Regions from separate parts of the Homo sapiens genome. Here region 2 is linked to region 1. The links are contacts of gene promoters, found by promoter capture Hi-C in blood cells and fetal thymus (Javierre and others, 2016). All regions are on one chromosome and are shown on one strand. The core of a region is centred on a gene start or on the middle of the fragment in contact, and the rest is flanking DNA. Distances in the headings are between cores, read along the strand shown.

Region 1 (5,999 bases), core at 3,487-5,986:
ACACCTTCAGAGGTTGGGTAATATCAGTGAGTAAAATGGACCAGGCAGAGCACAAAGCGGAATGGTGCAGACTGTGGCAAGTTGAGAACTTATGCCTCTGTAAAGGGGGCAGCCACCACTCATTTACTGCCGATTACTCTATCTTTGCTGAGGACAGTTGCACAGGTAGTGCACTGCAGAAGGGTAACACCTTAGAGGGGTGTCATTTGCATCATAGATGCAAAATTCACAGGCGAAGACTGATGTAGTTTGTCCCTAAAGTTTTGCTTTGATTTGCAGATATTTATCCATGGCAGTTTCCTGAAAGATGTCTATAGAAGGTTTTGAGGAATGGGCACCTTTTAATTTGCTACTAAACTAAACCCCAAGGGCCCATTATATGCCAGCACGGTCCTAGAGATTCCACACTCATTCAGTTCCTTTTCATCATAGGAAGTGGGCATTATAATATCAGGTCCACTGTAAGAGGTGGAGCCTGGGCATGGTGGCTCATGCCTATAATCCCAGCACTTTGGGAGGCCTACCTGTGCAGATCGCGGGAGCCCAGGAGTTTGAGACCAGCCTGGGCAACACGGTGAAACTCTGCCTTTACAACACATATAAAACGTTAGCTGGGCTTGGTGGCATGTCCCTGTAGTCCTAGCTATTCGGGAGGCTGAGATGGGAGGATCGCTTGAGCCTGGGAGGTCAAGGCTGCAGTGAGCCCAGATTGCACAACTATACTCCAGCTTAGGCCACAGAGCAAGACCTTGTCTCAAAAAATACAGTAAAATAATAAAAAGAAAGAAAGAGAAAGGAACAGATCAATAGGTACAATAAAGTAACGTTTGTATAAAAAAAGCAAAAGAACATATTTGTTTATTTGGATATTTGTTTATATTCATAAACTATCTCTAGAAAGATACCAAGAAACTGAATCTATTTGGTTGTATCTGAGAAACTACAGGAATAGGGATGGGGTTGAGATGGTGCCTTCTGAATTTTGAAATATACAAATGTATTGTCTATTTAGAAATAAATGGGCCAGGTGTGGTGGCTAGGCTGGGTGCGGTGGCTCTCGCTTGTAATCCTGGCACTTTGGGAGGTCGAGACTGACAGATCACTTGAGGTCAGGAGTTTGAGACCAGCCTGGCCAACATGGTGAAACTCCGTCTCTACTAAAAATATGAAAATGGCCAGGTGTGGTGGCTCACCCTGGTAATCCCAGCACTTTGGGAGGCTGAGGCGGGCGGATCACCTGAGGTCAGGAGTTCGAGAACAGCATGACCAACATGGAGAAACCCCATCTCTACTAAGAATATAAAATTAGCCTGGTGTAGTGGCGCATGCCTGTCATCCCAGCCACTCAGGAGGCTGAGGCAGGAGAATTGCTTGAACCCGGGAGATGGAGGTTGTGCCGAGCCGAGATTGCGCCATTATACTCCAGCCTGGGCAACAACAGCAAAACTTTGTCTCACAAAAAGAAACAACAACAACAGCAACAACAAAACACACACACAAAAATTAGCTGGGTGTGGTGGTGGGTGCCTATAATCCCAGTTACTCAGGAGGCTGAGGCACGAGAATTGCTTGAACCTGAGAGGCGGAGGTCGCAGTGAGCCAAGATCAGGCCACTGCACTCCAGCCTGGGCAATAGAGCAAGACTCAATCTCTAAATAAATATATAAAATAAATAAACAGTATTAAGACAAAAATCATAAGGACATTACATAAACCACGTTATGCCAGTGATTTTTTAAAATATCAAAACAGGCAGTTTTATAGAAAAATACAACTTCAGGCCAGGTGGGGTGCTTGTAATCCCAGCACTTTGGGAGGCCGAGGTTGGTGGATCACCTGATCTCAGGAGTTCGAGACCAGCCTGGCCAGCATAGCAAAACCCCAACTCTACCAAAAATACAAAAATTAGCTGGGCGTGGTGGCACATGCTTGTAACCCTAGCTACTTGGGAGGCTGAGGCGGGAGAATCACTTGAACCTGGGAGGAGGAGGTTGCAGTGAGCCAAGATCACGTGACTGCAACAGAGAAATTCTGTCTCAAAAGAAAAATATAACTTCATAAAAACGAAGTAGGGAGAAACAGAAAAGTTTGTCTAGATCTAGAACCATCAAAGGAATTGAATGTTTATTTTAAAATCTGTATCCCGGCCGGGCGCAGTGGCTCAAGCCTGTAATCCCAGCACTTTGGGAGGACGAGGTGGGCGGATCACAAGGTCAGAAGATCGAGACCATCCTGGCTAACATGGTGAAACCCCATCTCTACTAAAAATACAAAAAATTAGCCGGGCCTGGTGGTGGGTGCCTGTAGTCCCAGCTACTCGGGAGCCTGAGGCAGGAGAATGGCGTGAACCCGGGAGGCGGAGCTGGCAGTGAGCCGAGATGGTGCCACTGCACTCCAGCCTGGGCGACAGAGCGAGACTCCGTCTCAAAAAAAAAAAAAAAAAAAAAAAAATCTGTATCCCATCCCCTCAAAAATCTCACAAAAAAACAAAACCAAAGAAAAGTACCTGGCCCAGATGATTTTATGGACAGCAAACATTAAAAAGAACATAAAGTTTTTATCTTCTACATAATTTTTAAAAATTAATTATTTATTTTTGACAGAAAGTCTCGCTTTGTAGCCCAGACTGGAGTGCAGTGGCGTGATCTCTGCTCACTGCAACCTCTGCCTCCCAGGTTCAAGCAATTATCCTGCCTCAGCCTCCAGAGTAGCTGGGATTACAGGTGTGCCCGGCTAATTTTTTGTATTTTTAGTAGAGATGGGGTTTCACCATGTTGGCCAGGCTGTTCTTGAACTCCCGACCTCCGGTAATCCGCCCACCTCGGCCTCCCAAAATGCTAGTTTTACAAGCGTAGGCCACAGTGCCCAGCCTAGATAATCTTTCAGAAAAAGAAGCAAATGGAATTCTCCCCAACTCACTGTGAATTTAGTATAGGCTTAAAACCAAACCAGACATAAATAGTACAAGGAGGCAAAAGTATGGACTAACTTCTTATGGACATATATGCAAAAACGCTAAATAAAATATTAGCAAATAATCCAGCAATGGATTAAACATGTATCACGACCAAGTTGGGGTTTTCCTAGGAAACTAAGATTATGTAATAAAAGAAAAAACTATTAAAGTAGTACAAACTATCAAAGGAAAAAACCTGTATGATCATTGCAACAGGTTCATTTGCGACATAATACAATTTTTTTCTTTTTTTTTTTTTAAGTCTTTTTGGCTGTAAGTTTATTCAATGCAAAATAATCCTCTCCAATTCTACTGAGGTGGCTGACGGTGTCCACGACCAAATTTGCCTCTAAACTGGAATTCGGTTGCTGACCCAGCCCCAGCCTCGGCTTTCTTGTCGGCACCAGGGGGCACAGCACTCCTTCTGTAGGTATCTCTGTCGGCTTCTCCTCTTGTGAGTCTTGCAGGTCGCTCACCCTCCAGACCTTTAGACCGAGGCCTGCCAGTCCCTGGACGGCTGCGGCGTAGGGTGGCAGGCACAATCTCCAGGGGCAGATGAAGGTAATCACGGAGATACTGGATATCCTCATTGGTAAGGTACCAGTAGACATGTCTCCAGGCAAACTGTTCCTTCACGTAGTAGCCTCGGGACTACATGACAGGAAGGTTGGGCACACACATTCTTTTTTTTTTGAGAGGAGTCTCACTCTGTCGCCCAGGCTGGAGTGCAGGGGCGCGATCTCGGCTCACTGCAACCTCCGCCCCCTGGGTTCAAGCAATTCTCCTGCCTTGGCCTCCCGACTAGCTGGGATTACAGGTGTCTGCCACCGCGCCTGGCTAATATTTTTGTATTTTTAGTAGACACGGGTTTCACCATCTTGGCCAGGCTGGTCTTGAACTCCTGACCTCGTGATCCGCCCGCCTCGGCCTCCCAAAGTGCTGGGATTACAGGCCTAAGCCACCGCGCCCGGCCGGGCACATTCTTGTCTGCCAACTCCAGGTGCTTAGGCATGTGGACATCCTTCTTGACCACCGTGACTTCCTCTTTAAAAAGGAGTTCATAAATGGCAATCCGGTTTTTCTTAGGCATCAGCATTCTGGGGAGGAGCAGCCGCTAAGGTGGCAGGGTGGCCCGGATGGGGGCCGATGGAACTCGAACTCCCCCAGAATTTCTTTAATATTTTATATATATATATATATATATATACATATATATATGTATATATATACACATATATATACATATATATATACGTATATATATATGTATATATATACATATATATATACGTATATATATATACGTATATATATATGTATATACATATATATATACATATATGTTGCTCGCTTATTCTTTTTGTCTGTTCCCTTATGTACCGGGAGTGCCAGGAGGACAGGGCTTTGTGTTTTCCTCACTGCTGTCTGGCTCATGCATAGCACAGTCCTTGGCACACGGTAAACACGCTGAGGAGAACTTTTGGGACTAGCGGACTCTGAGCATCATTCCGCTGGGCCCAGTGGGGCCTCTGAAGGGACCCGCCTTGCCCGGCTCCAGCCCAAGACCTGAGGCATGCGCACCGGCTGGCCGGCTACTTTCTTGACCGGCCAAGTGGCAGAGCGGCTGCGCGACCCAGTGCCGAGACGGACGCGAGCCGGAGATGGGGGAAGGGGAGGGGGTGGTGGTGGGGGACGGCGGCGCCTGCGCAGTGAAGGAATGTAGGCGGGGCCTCCACGACGCCTGCGCAGACGGCCGCAGCCCTGCTGGGCGCGAAGGGGCTGGCCAAGGGCGGGGCCCGCGAGGGAGGCCGGGCGGCCCGGCAAGCGGCGCTGCGGGGTAGGCTGCTTTCCTGAGGCCGGACTCAACGGGTCTCGGCTGAGCCACCGGGTGAGCTCACCGCCCAGCCCAAACCAGGAGATTGCGAGGGAGCGATGCGGTGCAGCGCGGTAAGAGCAGCAGCCGGGTTCCCGCAGTGTTCGCTGGCGGGTTGGTTTATCGCCTCAGCGCCGCCCGCGCTGCCGCGCCCGGGCGTCCCCGCAGACCCCGGCAGGCCCAGCGCCTGCGCCGTCTCTGCTCCTGGGCCCCTCCAGTGTGTCCCGCGCCTGCGCCTTTCCCTTCCCGCGCCGTCCTCGTTCTGGGCTTCGGGGCTTCTGGAACAACCCGCAGGCTTCGCCGCCGAGACCCACTGGCCTTCGTCCGTTGGTGTTGGGGTTCAGCTGGTTCTGGGACCCCGCTTGCGGCTTGACTGTGTGCAGACAGGCCGGGTGCGACCCTCGTGCTTGCCTTTCCGCCGCTCCGGGAGAGGCTGGGGCTGCCGCCCCATCGCCCGGGTCCCTTGCCTGGGGCGGGGACAGCGTTGTTCAGTGGCCCCGAGGGCGCAGAGCGGAGGAGCAGGGGCCACAGGCGGCGGACCCCGGGCCTGCTGCCGGTGCTGCTTCTGCTGTGGCCGGCGCCCGAGGCGGACGGAACGTCCTTTTTTCTTGAGACGTGGTTAATTGCATCAGGTTGGATGTGAATAATCCGGTACCTGTCTGAGGAAATTTTGCGTTTCCAGGAATTTGGTAATTGTATTACCTTAAGTAGTTAAGTCTAAGACATCATAGTCGCGGCACGTTGGGCAAGCTGCCCTGGAGATGACGAAAAGAAATCAGTTTCCAGTAGTTTTAGCCCATTTACAGAACACGCAAAAATTCTGTGATCATTCAAATGCGGGGAACCTTGATTTGTTGATATCCTTGATCATTTGTCCAAGTACCAGAAGGGCGAGGAAAAGATTCCCGTGAACAGCCCAGGTGATTTCAGGGAACAGTGTTTTCTTTTGTCAAAAGAGCCTCTTAAGCCATGATAATATTTCCCAAGCTTATAACAGATACAAGCCTTTAAAAAATGGCATTTGCTGTCACCCAGTAGGACACATCTTGAGATGAAATCAGAGCTGTAGGCTTTGTAGACAACAGCAGTCATTTCTGGTGGCTTCAGGGAGTGGAGGGGGACTGCAATTTTGCCAATGTAGGTGATACCAAAGGGACTATAGTAATTTTT
Region 2 (5,963 bases), core at 322-2,821, 240 kb after region 1:
TACTGAATTAGCTCCTAGGTGGGGCCTGGCCAGAGATCATGAGAATAAGAGCATTAATCCTTGCAGATGTTCATCCTGTCCAGTGGTTCCCAAACTTTTTGTGGGATCATTAATGAGTAGCTTTTCTTATTTCTGAAGAAGCCTCCTTGTCACTAGGAGGAGGGGGGGTCCCAGTGCCATCCCCAGCAGCCTTCTGATACTTTCCCCAAGGAGTCAATGGAGCTCCTGCCACCCTGCAGATTGGCCAACAGCATGAGATCTGCTGGTTGGGAACTTTGGCAATTTAAAACTTTTTGTGTGTGTGGCATATAGATATACATTAACAATATTTACCATTTTAACGTGTACAGTCTGTGGCATTAAATACATTCATGTTGTGCAACCATCATCACCATGATCTCCAGAACTTTTCTCATCATTCACAATTGGACACCTCTACCCATTAAACAGTAACTTCCCATTATCCCCTCTTCTGGCCTCTGACAGCTATTCTACTTTCTGTCATTAAGAATTTGACTACTCTAGGCTGGGCGTGGTGACTCACACCTGTAATCCCAGCACTTTGGGAGGCTGAGGTGGGCGGATCACCTGAGGTCGGGAGTTCAAGACCAGCCTGACCAACATGGAGAAACCCCATCTCTACTAAAAATACAAAATTAGCCAGGCATGGTGGCGCATACCTGTAATCCCATCTACTCGGGAAGGCTGAGGCAGGAGAATTGCTTGAACCTGGGAGGGGGAGGTTGAGGTGAGCCAAGATAGTGCCATTGTACTCTGGCCTGGGCAACAAGAGCAAAACTCCATCTCAAAAAAAAAAAAAAAAATTTGACTACTCTAAATACCTCCTATGAGTAGACGCCTACAGTATTTGTTTTGTGTCTTAGCATATTCTTAAAGGTTCATCCATGTAAGCATGCATCAGAATTTCTTCCCTTTTTAAAAGAGAGTTGACTGATATTCCATTGTGTATATATATATACCACATTTTACCTATCAGTTCATCTGTTGATAAGACACTTGGGTTGTTTCCATCTTTTGGCTATTGTGAATAATGTTCCTGTAAACATGAGTGTGCAAATATCTGTTCAAGTCCCTGCTGCAATTGTTTTTAAGACTTTGGGAAAGACATTTGGCCCAGCCCCTTGTTTTGCCATGAAGCCCAGAGGTAAGGGCTGCCCACAGCCAGGAACAGGACCCAGAAGCCAGGCCATGGCACTCCTGAGACTGTATTCTTTTGCAGTGACTTCCCGCTGCTGGGCTGAGGAGCCCCCCTCAGAGGCTGTGCATGTTGGATATAATTCTGCCCTTTCTCCTATTTATAGCTATGCCCTTTGCCTTCTGTACGAGAGAGAAGCTTCCTTGGACAGAATTTGCTGAGTCAGCAGAGGATGGGCCCACCACCAGATTCTGTCAGAAGGTAGGACATTAACGGTGCCTCTGGCAGCAGCTGCCAAATATGTGCAAGTCACAGAGCATGACCACAGCTGCCGGGTTTGGCCTTTCACCATGGAAAATGCACCCATTTGGTGCTTGTTTTGCCAGATAAGATTAGATAAGACTATCTGCCACTTTTTTTTTTAGCGTACTCTTAGAATTGGGGCGTGTAAGGCTCCAGAAGGGCCATTAGCTTTTTCAGGCAAGGGAGCTGCAGCCCAGGGAGGGTGGTCGGAGGTGACTTTTGTAGCAAGTCCCACAGCTGGCAAGTGGCAGAGCTGGCATTCAGGGACCAGAGAAGCCAGTTTCTCATCCAGAGCTCTGCATGCTCCACTGCAGTTTGCTTGAGTCACAGAAGCTTCGATGCATGGCCTGTGTCTCATCAGCATAGAAATTGGTTTTGATTTTTCTTCATTAAAACCTTATAATACATATTGTATGATCCCATTTATATAAACTGTCCAGAATAGGCAAATCCATAGAGACAGAAAGTAGATAAGTGGTGGCTAAGGGCTGGGGGTGAGGGAGGAAGGGAGTGACTGCTAATGGATACAAAGTTTCCGTTTAGGGTGATGAAAATGTTCTAAAATTAGATAGTGGTGAAGGTTGCACAACTCTGTGAATATCCTGAATACTACTGAATTGCACACTTCAAAAGAGTGACTCCTTGTTCTGCTGTTTCCCACCTCTCGCTACTGTACTTGACCAATCTTAAAGTGAATCTTATGCTCTGTGAATTATATATATATATATATATATTTTTTTTTTTTTGAGATGGAGTCTCACTCTGTTGCCCAGGTTGGAGTGCAGTGGCACGATCTCGGTTCACTGCAAGCTCTGCCTCCTGGGTTCACGCCATTCTCCTGCCTCAGCCTCCGGAGTAGCTGGGACTACAGGCGCCCGCCACCATGCCTGGCTAATTTTTTTTTGTATTTTTAGTAGAGACGGGGTTTCACCGTGTTAGCCAGGATGGTCTTGATCTCCTGACCTCGTGATCCGCCACCTCGGCCTCCCAAAGTGCTGGGATTATAGGCGTGAGCCACCGCACCTGGCCTGAATTATATCTTAATAAAACTGTTATCAGAAAACCCATGAGGTGACGAATGGTCATTTATCCTTATTTTCACCTCTAACACAATAACTCTTTTCATTTCTTTGTATTCTCTTTCAGGTTTTATACATATACTTAGGGGCTTTTGGGGCAGAGCTATAATCATGGTGACTTTATCAATACTCAGTTGTGATTCCAAACATCGATGTTCTCAGGCTGTAGGGGAAAAAAAAAAATCTCTCATTCACCAGGTTGTTGATTTCTTGCTATGGAAAAAAGAGGAAGGAGACTGGTTAGGGGACTTTTGCAGATGATAAGTCTGAGCCAGGGCTGGAGGAAGAGTGTGAAAGAGAGCTGGTGCCAGAGACACTCCGCCTCCACAGGGACCTGAGGCTGCCCTTAGCATGGCTCCTAGTGTTGCCTTCTGAGCATGCCTCTCCCCTATCCTGTTGTTAAGGCCAGAGATCATGACAGCTAATTAGAGTAGAGGACAAATGACCCGCTGGGCTGCTCATCCTGTGGTCACCAGGGACTGATGTTCTTACTTGAGACAAAAGGAATTTGATGCCAAAGAAATTTATTTTTGGCATAGATAAGTCGTTTGATTATTATTTTTATTCTTTTTTCAAGTGGTAAAATATACATATAAAATGTACTATTTTAACCACTTTTAAGTGCACAGTTCAGTAGTGTAAAGTATATTCACACTGTGCGGATCTCCAGAATTTTTGCATCTTGCAAATCTGACTCTGTCCCATTAAACAATAGCTCCCCATTCCCCCAGCCCCTGGCAACCACCGTTCTATTAATATTATAGTTTCCATTTCTGTGAGTTTGACTACTCTAGATACCTTACACAAGTGGAATCATACAGTATTTGTCTTTTTGGGACTGGCTTATTTCATTTAGCATAGTATCATCAAGGTTCATCCATGTGTAGCGTAGAACCGTGGCATCTAAGGCTGAATGATACTCCATTGTATGGATGTGCCATGTTTCATTTATCCATTCACCCATTGATGGGCACTTGGTTGGCTCCCACCTCTTTGCTATTGTGAATAATGCTGCAATGAATATGCGTTTGCAAATCTCTTCTGCTTTCAATACTTTTGGATATATACCCAGGATTAGGATTGCCAGATCAAATGGTAATTCTTGTTTAATTTTTTGAGGAACTCCCATATGGTTTTCCAGAGCAGCTGCACCATTTTACTCTACCACCAACTGTGTACAGGACAATGTGATTCTTATTTAGCAAAGCATGGACATCAGGGTATTTAGTGTTCCAAACAACAAATGCAAGTGGTTGCTCTGACCCAAGCCTATTGATTTAGTAGGATCATTCTTCTTTGATAAAAAACTACAACAATTGGTTTATAAGTGGGACTCTGCCATATTTATCATTTTTCCAGCTGGCGAAGAACCATGACATGGTGGTGGTGTCTCCCATCCTGGAACGAGACAGCGAGCATGGGGATGTTTTGTGGAATACAGCCGTGGTGATCTCCAATTCCGGAGCAGTCCTGGGAAAGACCAGGAAAAACCACATCCCCAGAGTGGGTGATTTCAACGAGGTGAGCCACCCATAAGATAGATAACCAGCCCTGCTCACTTGCCCCTCTGTATGTTGTAGATCTCTGTGGGACTTTCTGTGGGGAAGTTCTGTGCAGGATCATACTCCATGTCACGTACACTCCACGGGAGCACAGTGTGGCTGCAGTGCTCAGAGGGTTACCTGACATTGCCCTATATCACACAGGCAGACAGGATTCAGGCGGGACTCTCAGAGGAGTCCCAAACACCTTTAGCACAATGGGGCATATATTTTTTTAATACAACCTGATTTGGCCTCCTGAATTCTTTGAAGTAAGTGGTATATAAATTAAAACCAAAACTAAATATTGCACAAACATGAAATGATTCCTGTGGCCCCTTTCAGGCTCAGAGCCTAGCACGCCACAGCCCTGTCCTTGTTTGGAGCATGGCATTCCTTGTCTGTGGATCATGGGGGGGTCTGAGGTGGCCCATGTTTGTGTGTCAGGTGGCAGTAGGCAAACATGCATGTCTGTATACTGTGCATTATGTGAAGTTTCATGTGCCCATGATCAGGGCATAAGTTGGGGGGGCCATTTTGGTTGGTTAATGCCAACCCCTGGGTGGGTAAGATGGGAGCGGTGGATGTTTGAAGGAGGGAAATGACCTCTGCCTAATGCCTAAGATGTTAAATCTGAACTTGATTTGCCATTAATGCAGTTGTTCAGGATGTGATGTCCCCAGTTCTCTCTCCATGAATGTGGGGGTCCTGGCCGTTCTCAGGCTGGTCAGGCAGATAAGAAATGGCCTGCAGAGCTAGAGGAGGTTTCCCAGGGAGAAAGAAGAACCCAGCGTTTCTCAGTAACAGCTGGAGGTGGGGGTGGGAAGACGCGCCCCTCACCTGTTTACCCTGGGATTAATCTTTAGCTCCCTGCAGATAGCACAGGGCTTGTCTCAGCACAGCAGGATCTGCTCCGGTGTTCACCACGTGCACACATCCTGGTTGCTGCCTGACCCTGGCCAATTTTGATGGCCAGGATCAGGAGGAGGTGGAAGGCTCCTGGAGCAGATCTGTTTGGGACCCTGATTTGCCCTCTAGCTTCCCTCAGTGCTGTCCAGGACAGTGTCCCTGCCCTGGCACCCTTAGGAGCAGACAGAGAAGCAGGGATGGGAGGATGGGGTCTGGTCCGCCTGCCCCACAGGGACCTCCTTAACCCTAGGCAGGATGGAGAAGGTGCGCTTTCAGGGTGTGGGTTCCACTAGAAGCTTTGGCCTTAATCATTTGGGCGAGCTATGCCCCCTCAGGAAGCAGCTTTCTCCTCTGACCAGGGAGAGAGTTGCTTGGATGTGCTCCAGGTCTCCGGGCTCCACCGTTCTATATAATGACATGTGATTGCTGAGGGCATTGACCAACTCGTGTTAATGCCAACCAAACCCGAGCCTTGAGTTGGACCATAATTGAAACCTCACCAGAGTTTGAAATAGTGTGGAACGTCATTGTGGGGATTTTTGTGACATGTCAGAAAGGAGACTGGGCAAATGCTTAAGCCACTGTGATTTCCCCCGGGGGCTGGCTTATTTGGTGTCAGGGTTTTTTTGTGTGTGTTTTGTTTTTATCATATTGAAATTCTGGAACTTAGAGTCACACTCAGGAGTGTAACCACCTCTGGACTATTGGTGATATTTCAGTTTTTCTGCTGAGTCTAAGGAAATCTTGAAGGTCAGAGGCATCAGTATATGGCCCTTTGCTTTTCAGTCAACTTACTACATGGAGGGAAACCTGGGCCACCCCGTGTTCCAGACGCAGTTCGGAAGGATCGCGGTGAACATTTGCTACGGGCGGCACCACCCCCTCAACTGGCTTATGTACAGCATCAACGGGGCTGAGATCATCTTCAACCCCTCGGCCACGATAGGAGCACTCAGGTCACTCAGTTGGTGGGGT

Evidence for each region. The method cuts DNA at HindIII sites, captures the fragments that hold promoters and counts their contacts. A CHiCAGO score of 5 or more calls a contact.
Region 2: a fragment that was not itself captured here is called in contact with the fragment with the promoter of SPECC1L-ADORA2A in region 1 in 1 of 17 cell types (erythroblasts); the score reaches 7.3 in erythroblasts.

What each region holds. Positions count from the first base shown.
Region 1 is chr22:24,266,081-24,272,079 of GRCh38, forward strand. It overlaps SPECC1L-ADORA2A (SPECC1L-ADORA2A readthrough (NMD candidate)), which reads left to right and starts at 4,737. Exons shown (of 20, transcript NR_103546.1): 1 at 4,737-4,903. SPECC1L (sperm antigen with calponin homology and coiled-coil domains 1 like) reads left to right here and starts at 4,751. Exons shown (of 17, transcript NM_015330.6): 1 at 4,751-4,903. It also overlaps the pseudogene RPS10P29. RefSeq lists a silencer at 4,540-5,069 and an enhancer at 5,130-5,209. The HindIII fragment of the contact is 24,380 bases long and covers 1-5,814 here.
Region 2 is chr22:24,509,427-24,515,389 of GRCh38, forward strand. UPB1 (beta-ureidopropionase 1) reads left to right here. Exons shown (of 10, transcript NM_016327.3): 4 at 1,323-1,417; 5 at 3,898-4,059; 6 at 5,775-5,944. Among named protein-coding and RNA genes, the nearest start is that of UPB1, 17 kb to the left of the region's middle. RefSeq lists a silencer at 20-293 and an enhancer at 5,267-5,316. The HindIII fragment of the contact is 438 bases long and covers 1,353-1,790 here.